2 separate regions of the Homo sapiens genome follow, and region 1 is linked to region 2. The links are contacts of gene promoters, found by promoter capture Hi-C in human tissues and cell types (Jung and others, 2019). All regions are on one chromosome and are shown on one strand. The core of a region is centred on a gene start or on the middle of the fragment in contact, and the rest is flanking DNA. Distances in the headings are between cores, read along the strand shown.

The links. Contacts are between HindIII fragments. The study calls those that stand out against the background at their distance.
Region 1: a fragment that was not itself captured here is called in contact with the fragment with the promoter of RFPL2 in region 2 in 2 of the 25 tissues and cell types used here (dorsolateral prefrontal cortex and lymphoblastoid cells).

The regions. Positions count from the first base shown.
Region 1 is chr22:32,518,005-32,523,263 of GRCh38, forward strand. It overlaps SYN3 (synapsin III), which reads right to left. Exons shown (of 14, transcript NM_003490.4): 13 at 39-330. Among named protein-coding and RNA genes, the nearest start is that of FBXO7, 46 kb to the left of the region's middle. The HindIII fragment of the contact is 4,695 bases long and covers 240-4,934 here.
Region 2 is chr22:32,201,165-32,206,768 of GRCh38, forward strand. RFPL2 (ret finger protein like 2) reads right to left here and starts at 3,909. Exons shown (of 5, transcript NM_001394555.1): 1 at 3,543-3,909; 2 at 1,169-1,386. The coding sequence starts at 1,287. It overlaps SLC5A4-AS1 (SLC5A4 antisense RNA 1), which reads left to right and starts at 3,951. Exons shown (of 4, transcript NR_149072.1): 1 at 3,951-4,083. RefSeq lists an enhancer at 5,353-5,604. The HindIII fragment of the contact is 14,140 bases long and covers 1-5,604 here.

The DNA.
Region 1 (5,259 bases), core at 1,337-3,836, 320 kb after region 2:
CTCTATCCTATACCTTTTCCAATTCCCAAAGCACTTACTTGAGATGCGGATGGGGTGGTGCTGGCTTCTTGGACTCTTCACCCTGCTGGGAGGTACTACGGCCCTGCACAGGGGGCCGGGGCTGTGAGGCGAGGGTGGCACCTGGCTTGGAGGCCTGGTTTGGGGAGCTGCCACTGGATGCCCGGGATAGCTGCGGAGAGCCTGGTGACCTTTGCTGCTGTGGAGATCCGGACTGGGGGCTCAGGGGCTGCTGGCCTTGTGGGGAGAGCCTCTGTTGGGAGGGGCTTCCAGATCTCTGGGGCTGAGGAGACTGAGCTTGGCGAGGGCCTCCTAAGGGGCCAGAAAAAAAAAGGTTCAGTTCAATTTTTTTTCTTAGGATAGATATGGCTGTACACAAATAATGTTGCTTCAAGGATGTTCATTACAGTGTTTCTTATAATGGTGAAAAACTGAAAACCGTATAAATACCTAACCATAAGGAAGTAATTAGGAACATTAAGATACATCTGTATAATGGAATATGCTGTGGTCATCACATAGGATGTGGCTGAGTAATACTAAATGACACAGGATACTGTTGATAACATATGCTAAATATTATACTGCTGAACAAAATAGCTTAGAATACAGTACTTATGGTTTTATTTTGGCACATATGTAAAAACATATATAAAAAAGCAAGACTGGAAGACTGTACACTAAAACCAGTGTGCCTCAGACTTTAATGTGCATATGAATCACTGGGGATCTGGTCAAAATAAAGATTCTGATAGAGTGAGTCTCGGGCTGCGTTACGGACTGAATTGTGTTCACCCTGTCCCAATTCATATGTTGAAACCTTAACCCTAACCCTCAATGCAATTCTATTTGGAGATAGGATCTTTAAAGAGGTAATTAAAGTTAAATGAGGTGATACGGTGGGGCCCTAATCTGATAGGCCTGGTGTCCTTATAAGAGGAGAAAGAAATATCAGGAGTGTCATGTACCCAGGTACAGAAGAAAGGACACACGAGGATACACAAAGAAGGCTGCCATCTGCAGGCCAAGGAGAGAAGCTGTACCAGAAACCAACCCTGCTAGCACCTTGATCTTGTACCTGCAGCCTCCAGAACTGTGAAAAAAACATCTGTTGTTTAAGGCCCCCCCAGTCTATGGCATTTTGTTATCAAGGCAGCCTGAGAAAACTAATATAGGCAGGATCTGCGATTCTGCATTTCTAACGGGTTCCCAGCTTATCCTACGTTGAGTAATGAGACACTAAATAATCATTACAAAAGTGGTGAGATTAAGAAGGATTTTAATTCTCTTTTTTTTTTTCTCACGGGTATTTTCCACACTGAAGATGTATTTCTTTGGAAACAACGACAAGAATTAACTCTTACTTTTTGAGTTGCTCTCTAAACTTTTCCAAGAACTTTCAAAAGCAACATATCACTTGACCTAGAGAGGTCAGTAGGGAAGATACCATTCTTCTCACCACATAGAGGTGGAGACTGAGTCTTATTAAGGTTTCCCAGTTGGAAGAGGAGCCACAGAAAGCTCAAAGAGAATCTTGGTTTCTCCCTCTCACCGTACAGGGCACACAGGCTTCCACAAGCAAGCCAAGAGGCATCTAAGCTTGGGGATGTTGTAGCCACCCAGAAATGACTTTGAGTAGAATTCCAAGGCCCCCAACAATCAAGGTGCACTCTCCTAACCCTCAAATTCTGGGTGTCAGGGCTGTTGATGGTGAATTGCATTTTGCCAAAGCCGACTGGCTGCCCGTAGGTCTCTTCTCCCTACGACATGCTGCTGCTGGGAGAGTGGGGTTATTCTTGCCACGTTTTTTTGAGAGCACCGTAGGCACGTTAGGAGACTGAAAACTAAAAGGTGCTGGAACCCATCTCTGTGACTCTGTAACAATGGGGCTTCTACTGAGCACCTATTATGTCACCAGCTTTGGACTGGGCACAACAGCTCTGTGGGTTAGGCATTATTTTCATCCCCTACCCCCAGCCATGGGAGTGCTGTCCCTGGAACTCTAGAGAGAGCCACATGTATAATTACACATTTTCTAGTAGGCACATTTTAAAAAGTAAAAAGAAATAGGTGAACATAATTTTAATAGTGTGTGTGTGCGTGTATATAGGTATGTATGTATATATATAATTTTTAATTAAAGAGATGGGGTCTCTGTCACCCAGGGTAGAGTGCAGTGGCATGGTCACACCGCAGCAGTGAACCCCTGGGCTGAAGCCACCCTCCTGCCTCAGTCTCTAGAGTAGCTGGGACTACAGGCCCAACACCACTTTTTCTTTCTGCCTTTTTTTTTTTGTAGAGATGGGGTGTCGCTGTGTTGCCCAGGCTGGTCTTGAACTCCTGGCCTCAAGCAATTCTCCCACCTTAGCCTCCCAAAGTGCTGGGATTACAGGTGTGAGCCACTGTGCTTGGCCCCATTTTTACAGAGAAACTGAGACCCAGATATATTGTGACTTGCTTAAGATGTCACTACGAATAAGGGGACACGCCGAGATTCAAACCTAGATCTCTTTGACTCAAAAACCCTGTTTTATTACTTTTTCCTTTATGAAAACTACACCACGCAGGCTCGCCTGAGTCCTCATAACATCTTTATTGCTAATTAAGAAAAGGCGGCTTCCTTCAGCTGAAGCAGCTCTGAGCCAGATGCCAAAGGGGCAAGGACTAGATTTCAGCCAGCCTCCCTTACCAGATGTCACGTCAGCTGAGCACATTTTCAGAGGACATGCCACCTGTATAACCTCCATGACCTGTGGAGTCTGGTGGCCCTGACTCCACACTGGCACCAGGAGCCTCAGGTCCTGACTCAAGCCTTGCCATTAACTCGCTGTGTGACCGTGGGTAAGTCACTCCCCTTCTCTGGGCTTCTGGGCCCTCATTTGTAAAATAAGGTCATTGGACTGAACATCAAACATCCCTCCCGATCTGAACATTTTTGTGAGCTTGTGGAACACTAAATTGGATTAAATTGCAGCATCAGTTTAGCATCTGATTATATTACATGGCTTTGATTCATTACCTCTTTCATGATTGTATAGGCGAGTAGATGGGAGGTCACATTTATCTCAAACACCTCTAGGGCCAACCAGGTATGTAAATAAATAAAGCAGGCAAATATAAGAAAAGTAATGAGGCTTTCAAAAATTTGCCCACTTGAGATAAAAACAGTCCAGAGAACTATTTCTCTGAAGAGGTGCAAGCATAAAGAACATAGCAATTGCCCCTCTCTGTCACTATGGAAGTGAGGAGTAGGGCTGGAGGCAAACGCAGGAGCCCCTAGGAGCCCTTGCTCTGATCAAGGAAGCCGCTGTTAGTAACGCCAGGGACAGTTGCTGTATAGAAACACAGGCCCATTGTTTCTAGAGCTTCTGTGCTATCAAGAGATGCTGGAAATCTAGATGTTTAAGCAACACCTCTTGATTTTTTTTTTTTTTTTTTTTGAGACGGAGTCTTGCACTATTATCCGGGCTAGAGTGCAGTGGCGCGATCTCGGCTCACTGCAACCTCCTCTGTCTCCTGGGTTAAGAGATTCTCCTGCCTCAGCCTCTCAAATAGCTGGGATTACAGGCGTCCGCCACCACGCCCAGCTAATTTTTTGTATTTTTAGTAGAGACAGGGTTTCCCCATATTGGCCAGGCTGGTCTCGAACTCCTGACCTTGTGATTCGCCCACCTCAGCCTCCCAAAGTGCTGGGATTACAGGTGTGAGTCACCGCGCCCAGCTCACCTCCTGATTTTTAAATGTTGGTTACTTTTGGGTTTTCTAAACCCACCGCAGTTCAAATAAAACATTTGTTTTCTACTTTTATCTTCAGTTTCCCCTGATTCGCCTCCCTTCCCAGGTTGATATCTTAGAAAATGTGAATACCCATTCATTAATTCAGTAACTCTTTGTTGAGTCCCTATCATATACCTGGGATTTATCAAGAGAGACACCCTAGTTACTGGATTCAGAGACCAGAGTGCTAACCATTACCACTGCCCTAGTTATTTCTTTCGGCTTCTTGGCAAAGCAAACAATTTAGTATTTTTCATATGAGCACATACACAAAATATTAACATATATAGAAAGTATTTGCCTAAGCACAGACATGAAGCTTATTAAAAGAAAATTTCACTTTTACTGAGTTGAAATGAACAGCAAGTTCAAAATAATAATGTGATTTGTTAATTGGGGAACTCAATGAAAGCGTTGTTTTTCATTAGCCTTGTTATTTTTAATCTGAGCGTTAATTCACTGGGCATTTTCTTTAATTACCTTAATTGGTTTTAAATTGATTGTTTTTCAACTCACTAAAAGTGTGTTTAGCCTCATTTCCCTTAAAATAATATCTCTTTATCAAGCATGTTTTACTCTGGGCCAGAGAGGAAATCAGAATACAGTAGCTCTCTGTTTTAAAACGGCTCTGTTCAAATGTGCTTTTAAAAAGCAGGTCCCAGGGCAGAGGGGAAAGGAGGGTGTGGGGCAGAGGCACAGCCAGGAGCCTGGTAGAGTGAGGAATATGTAGTTTCGGAACACTTATTACTATAGAATTCTTGCTGGGTAACGGGGCACTGCATTAGTTACAAGGATTGTTAATAATAAACATGAAAAGCAATATGTATAAGACACACGTTATTAATAGTAAGCATTATGTCATAGTTATTCGTAGTAAATTATTAGTAGTAAGAACTGACACCTTCTACGCACTATCTCTGTGTCTGATGCCTTGCTAATTGCTTCACCTGCATTTATCTCATGGACAAGCACCCCATCCTTAAACATGGAAGCTGTTATTTCCTCCTTTACACTGAGGAAACTGAGGCCCCGAGAAGTAATATGACTTGCCTAACACTGCAAAGGCAGTGAGATACGGAACTGGATTCAAACACACTAGATCTGCCTGAAGGAGAATACTAATGTGTATTTTATACAGGCATACCTTGTTTTATTGTGGTCCATTTTATTTCAGTTTGCAGATACTGTGTTTTTTCTAAATTGGAGGGTTGTGACGACCTTGCATTGAGCAAGTCTGTCAATGCTGTCCTTCCAACAGCATGTACTCATGTGGTGTCTGTGCCTCACATTTGACAATTGTCACAAATTTCAAACTTTTAAATTATTATTATATCTGTTATGGTGATCCGTAATCAGTGATCTTTGATACTACTATTGTATTAATAATTGTTTTTGGGTGCCATGAACCACACCCATATAAGACAGTGAACTGGCCGGGCGTGGTGGCTCATGCCTGTAATCCCA
Region 2 (5,604 bases), core at 2,659-5,158:
GTAGCTGGGACTACAGGCGCCCACCACCACACCTGGCTAATTTTTTTGTATTTTTAGTAGAGACGGGGTTTCACCATATTAGCCAGGATGGTCTTGATCTCCTGACCTCGTGATCTGCCTGCCTCGGCCTCCCAAAGTGCTGGGATTACAGGTGTGAGCCACTGTGCCTGACAAGTGTTCCCTTATTTCTATGAGAATATGCAAAGCATTTGGTCAAGGAGAGTTGGTTTTCTCAATGTTGAAGCCAGGCATGTTTTCACAACTAAAAGCGAGGACCCGTCTTAACCAAGGCCTCAATATTGATGGGATTTGGTCTCTGACACATGCACAGGTGACCTGTGTCTGTAAGTGCACCTACAGCTGCCTGGCAGCTCTAGGACATGGCGATTCTCTCAGGTACTTGGCACAGAAAGTCACTGGCCTTCTTTGGAGGACGCATCATTTATAGAAACACTTCTTTATTGGATCCTGGGTCTCGGGTGGAAAACCAGGTCCCACATCAGGACTTTCTCTGTGAGGCTCCCAGGTTCTGGGGCTCCAGCTGCTCTCTGAGAGGAAGGTGTGGAGACAGAGAACATAGCCCAGCCCCACCCAGCCCCTCTTGCATTGTCCCTGCTCTGTAGGGAGTTAGAAAACTGGGGGCATCAGCAGCAGCAGGCCTGTGTCACTGTGGGTGGGGCCAGGGAGGGGCCGAGGGGCATCCTGGGTGAGTCTCTCCCACGGCTCCTGTTTGACTTGCCCATGGCCACTGTCACAAATGACCCCTAATTTAGTGGCTTAAAATAACACACATTTATTCTCTCCCAGGTATGGAAGTCAGAAGTCCAAAATGAGGCCTGAGCTGCTAAGATCAGGGTGCCAGCAGGGCCGGGCTCCTTCCGGGGGCTCTGAGACAAATCCATTTCCAGAACTTTTCCAGCTTCTAGAGGACGCCCCCAGCTCCTGGCCCTTTCTTCTAACTACAAAGCCAGAGCTCAGCATCTTCAGATCTCTCTCCTGATCTTCTCTCCCCCCACTTTCTGTCTTCCTCTCCCTGGACTCCCCTCTCCTTCTCTCTCCCTCCATCCCCACATCTCCTCCTCTCACTGTGACCCTCCTCCTGCCTTCCTCTTTCCCTTATAAAGACTCCACCCTGGAGCAATGCGGAAAACCCAGAATTGTCTCTCACCTCAGGCTCCTTATCACCATCATGTCTGCAAAGTCCCAGTGGCCACACAATACAGCACATAGACAGATCCTGGATTGGGACACTGCAGTCTCTGGGAAGCCTAATTCAGCCACCTCCATCGGAGGCAAATCATGGTGCCACAGGCTCTAGCCTCCAGCCCGTGGCATGTAGCTCCTTCTCAGGGCACTGGGCATCCGGGCAGACAAAGCCAGAAAAGCCTAGAACAGGATGCAGAGTGGTAACATTAGAGCGCACCTTGTCATGCTGGCCACTGGGTGGCAGGGGCCGGTTTCAGCGAAGGTACTCACACCCACACTTCAAAGTCCAGCCTCTCCTTTTAGCGCAAGCTGGCCAGGAACTGCGGCCTGGAGTGGGGACTGCAGACACCACAGTGCCCGGGCTTCCCACTCCACAGGAACAGCTGCAGCCACCCTGGCTGCACTCCTCGGGAAGCAGGAGCAGCAGAAACTCAACCCCAGCCAGCCCTCCCCACCCAAGTGCCGGTTCCCGTTCCTGATGCCTCCTCCACCCACAGGGCCCTGTAGCCTCCTCGTGTCCACTACTGCGTGCCCCGGGGTCCCAGGCGGTCTCTGCAACACAGAGCAATAGGAGGCGGGTCCAGGAAGCACCACGGGGCTGGGGCCCCTGCCGCGCTCAGGAAATGCTGTGCGCCCGCCGCACTTGAGCAAGAACAGGAGGAGGTGGCCGGGAAGAGGAGGACCGCTCCTCTCTTGCAGACCACCGCTGTCACTGACACCTCCACCGCCCGCCACCGGCAGTGCAGTCCCAGATGGCGCCCCTAACTCATCCGTGCCTAGTACATGCAGCACCCAATGGCGCTGGCAGCCTGCCCCCTGCCACGGGCAGCGCAGCCCGGGATAACTCCCCAAACCCGCTCTGTGCTGTGGGCAGTGCAGCCACGGATACCACCCTCAACCAGCCCCTCGCCACAGGAAATGACTCCCGGGATAGCGCCCCAAATCAGCCCCCAGCCTCGGGCAGTGACGCCTGGAGTAGGTCACCCAACCCAACTCCTGCGCGGGCAGTGCAGCACCAGATAGCGCCCCTAAAACGCCTCCCGCCACCGGCGGTGTAGCCCAGGATAGCGCCGCCAACCCGGTACTCGCCGCGGCAGTGTAGCGATAGGGCACCCAATCTGCCACCCACCGCCGGCAGTGCAACCCCAGATAGCGCACCGAACTCACTCCCTGCTGGGCAGTGCAACCCCACATAGCATCCAACCCGCCTCCCCACCCAGCCACTGGCAGTCCGCCCCCGATAATGTCCCATACACGCTCCTGGCTGTGGGCAGTGCAGCCCATGGGTAGCGCCCCCAACCAGCCCCCAGCCATGGGGAGTGATGCCTCGGATAACACACCCAACAAGTTCCCCACCATGGCACTGATGTCCCAGGTAGCGCCCCCAATCCTTGCCCCTCAGCGACCAGTGCAGCCATGGATAGCGCCCTCAACAAGCCCCTCCACTGACCCCCGCCGCTGTGGGAAATGACGCCCGGGATAACGCACCCAACCCTCCCCCGCCATGAGCAATGCAACACGCACTACTGCTCCTTACACGCCCCCCACTACATGCGGTGTAGCCAACGATGGCGCCCCCATCTCCCCCTCGCCTCGGGCAGTGTAGCTCCCGATAGTGCATCCAACCCATTCCCTCTGCCCCTCTCCTCCCACCGAGTCAACCACCGCCGGCAGTCCAACCCCAAATAGCGCACCCAATCCACTCCCTGCCAGGCAGTGAAGCCCCCCGATAGCACCCAACCCGCACCCCCACCCCCGCCACTGGCAGTCCGCCCCGATAACGCCCCAACACGCTCCTGGCTGTAGGCAGTGTAGCCCATAGATAGAGCCCCCAACCAGCCCCCAGCCAAGGGCAGTGACGCCTCGGATATCACAGCCAACAAGTTCCCTGCCATGCGCACTGATGTCCCAGATAGCGCCCCCAACCCGTACCCCAGCGCGACCAGTGCAGCCACGGATAGCGCCCCCAGCAAGCCACCCCGCGGCTGCGGGAAATGACGTCCGGTAAAGCACCCAACCTTCCCGTGCTGTAGGCAGTGCAGCACCCAATACTGCCCCTAACACGCCTCCCACCACCGGGTTGTAGCCCACGATGGCGCCCTCAATCCGCCCCCGCTCCCACCTCGGGCAGTGCAGCTCCAGATCGTGCATCCAACCTGTCCCCCTCCCCGCCCCCTGCCGCAGGCAGTGAGCCCTGGATAGCTCATCCACCCCGCCACCTTTCTACATTCTGGCTGCGGTCTAGTCTCCCTCACCGCCACCAACGGCAGCGAGCCGAGCCATGCTGCTGCAGGCTTTCAAGCCTCCAGCGTGGGACAGGTGACTCCTCCTCTAACCTGGGCATGGAGCAGATGGGCTGGCAGACGCAGAAGTGCCTGGAATGGCAAGAACCCCTCCCCCCACAGACCGAGGTTATGCAAGTAAGGTTTCTGGACTACATGTTCAGATTGGATGAGAGAAAAACCTCTAGGTCTACTCTGATTGTGCTTTATTTTCACGTTCTGACTGGATGACAGCAAGTCTTAGGATAACCAATCAGAACAAGATAACAAAGCCCGATCAGAGTAGGCCTAGAGGTTTCTCTCATCCGATCAGACTATGTAGTCGAGAAACTTCATTTGCATTAAACTCAGTATATAAAGGATGCCAAGAGGGGTGGCTTGCCCTTCCAGGCTCATCTGCGTCGGCCTGCGTAGCTGCTCTGTGCCCGGCTTAGAGGAGAAGGAGGAGGAGCCACTTGCCGCGCATGCCAGAGGCTAGAGTCATCTACCGCGCATGCTGGAGGCTGGAGCCTACAGTGGCTCACCTCGCTGCTGCGGTTGGTGGCCGCGAGGGTGACTACAGCGCAGCCAGAATGGTGAAAAGGTGGCAGAATAGGTTCGTTATCCCAGGCCGTACTGCCTGTGGCGTGGGGGGCGGGTTGGGGGCCCTATCCAGGGCGTCACTGCCCGTGTTGGGGGGCTGCTTGAGTGTGGTACCTCGGGCGTCACTGCCCGCTGAGGGGAGTGGGGTGGGGGCGCTATCCGGGGGCGCTATCCAGCCTATGGCTGGAGATGGGTTGGGGCGCTATCCGAAGCTGTAATTCCTGCGGCAGTGGGGAGTTTTGGGGGCACTATCTGGGGATGCACTGCCCGCGGCCGGGGGGCGGGGGTGAGTTAGTAGAACTATCAGGTGCTGCAATGCCCTGATGCCCTTGTTGGGGACAGGTTGTGGGGGGCTGGTGGGTGCAACACTGCTGGTGGCGAGGGTGGGTGCTGCTATCCGGTGCTACTCTGCCTGTGGGGGACGGGGGCGGGCGTGATATCCAGGGCATCATTGCCTGCATCTGGGAGCTGGTTGGGGACACTATCCATGGCTGCACTGCCCACAGTGGGGAGCGGGTTGGGGGCACTATTTGGGGCTGCAATGCTGGTGGTGGGGGACGGGTTAGGGTCACTATAGGGTGCTACACTGCTGGCAGTGGGGAGGGGGTTGTTGAGGGCGCTCTCTGGGGGCTACACTGAGACAGGTAGCGGGGGGTTGTTGGGATTGGTACCGGGGCTGGACTGCCCATGGAGAGGGGGTGGGGGCGTTGGTTGGGGGCGCTATTGAGGGCCGGGTACACTGCCTGCGGTGGAGGGGTGGGTTGGGTGCTATCAGGGGTCTGTACTGCCTAGCAGGGAGCGGGTGGGTGTGCTATCTGGGGCTGCACTGGCTGCAGCAGGGGCAGGTTGGGTGCACTATAGGGGGCTACACTGCCCTTGGCAGGGGGTGGTTTAGGTGAGCTGTCTGTGGCCGCACTGCCCGAGGTGGGGAGTAAGTTTGGGTGCTATCTGTGGCTGCACTGCCTGGAGGCAGGAAGTGGGTTGAGGGTGCTATCCTGGGCTGCTTCTCCTGGTGGGGAGCAGGTAGGGGCACTATCCAGGGTTGCACTGCCCGGGGTAGGGGGCGATTTGGGTGCCATATCGGGGCATCACTGCCCACGGCAGGGGTCTGGTTGGGGTCGCTACCCATGGCTACACTGTCTACAGCCACTGCCTACGGCAGGGAGCGGGTTGGGGGCGCTATCCCGGGCTGCGCTGCCCAAGGCAGGGGGTGGGTTGCGGGTGCCATTGGTGCTGCAGTGTCCGAGGCAGGGGCGGGTTGGGGTTGCCATCTGGTGCTACACTGCCAGCTGTGGGGGAGGGTCGGGGGCGCTATCGGGGGCTGCACCGTCCCCCTGGTGGTGGGCAGCGGAGGTGTCAGTGACAGCGGTGGTCAGAGGAGGTGAGAGGGACTCCAGTCTCTAGAGGGCCATCTCCTTCTGCTCCTGGCCAGCACACAGCATTTCTGCGGGGATCCTGAGCACGGCCCGGCCCCTAGACCTGCTGTGGTTCCCAGGCGCGCGCCCTCTCACCATGTGTTGCTGAGACCGTCTGG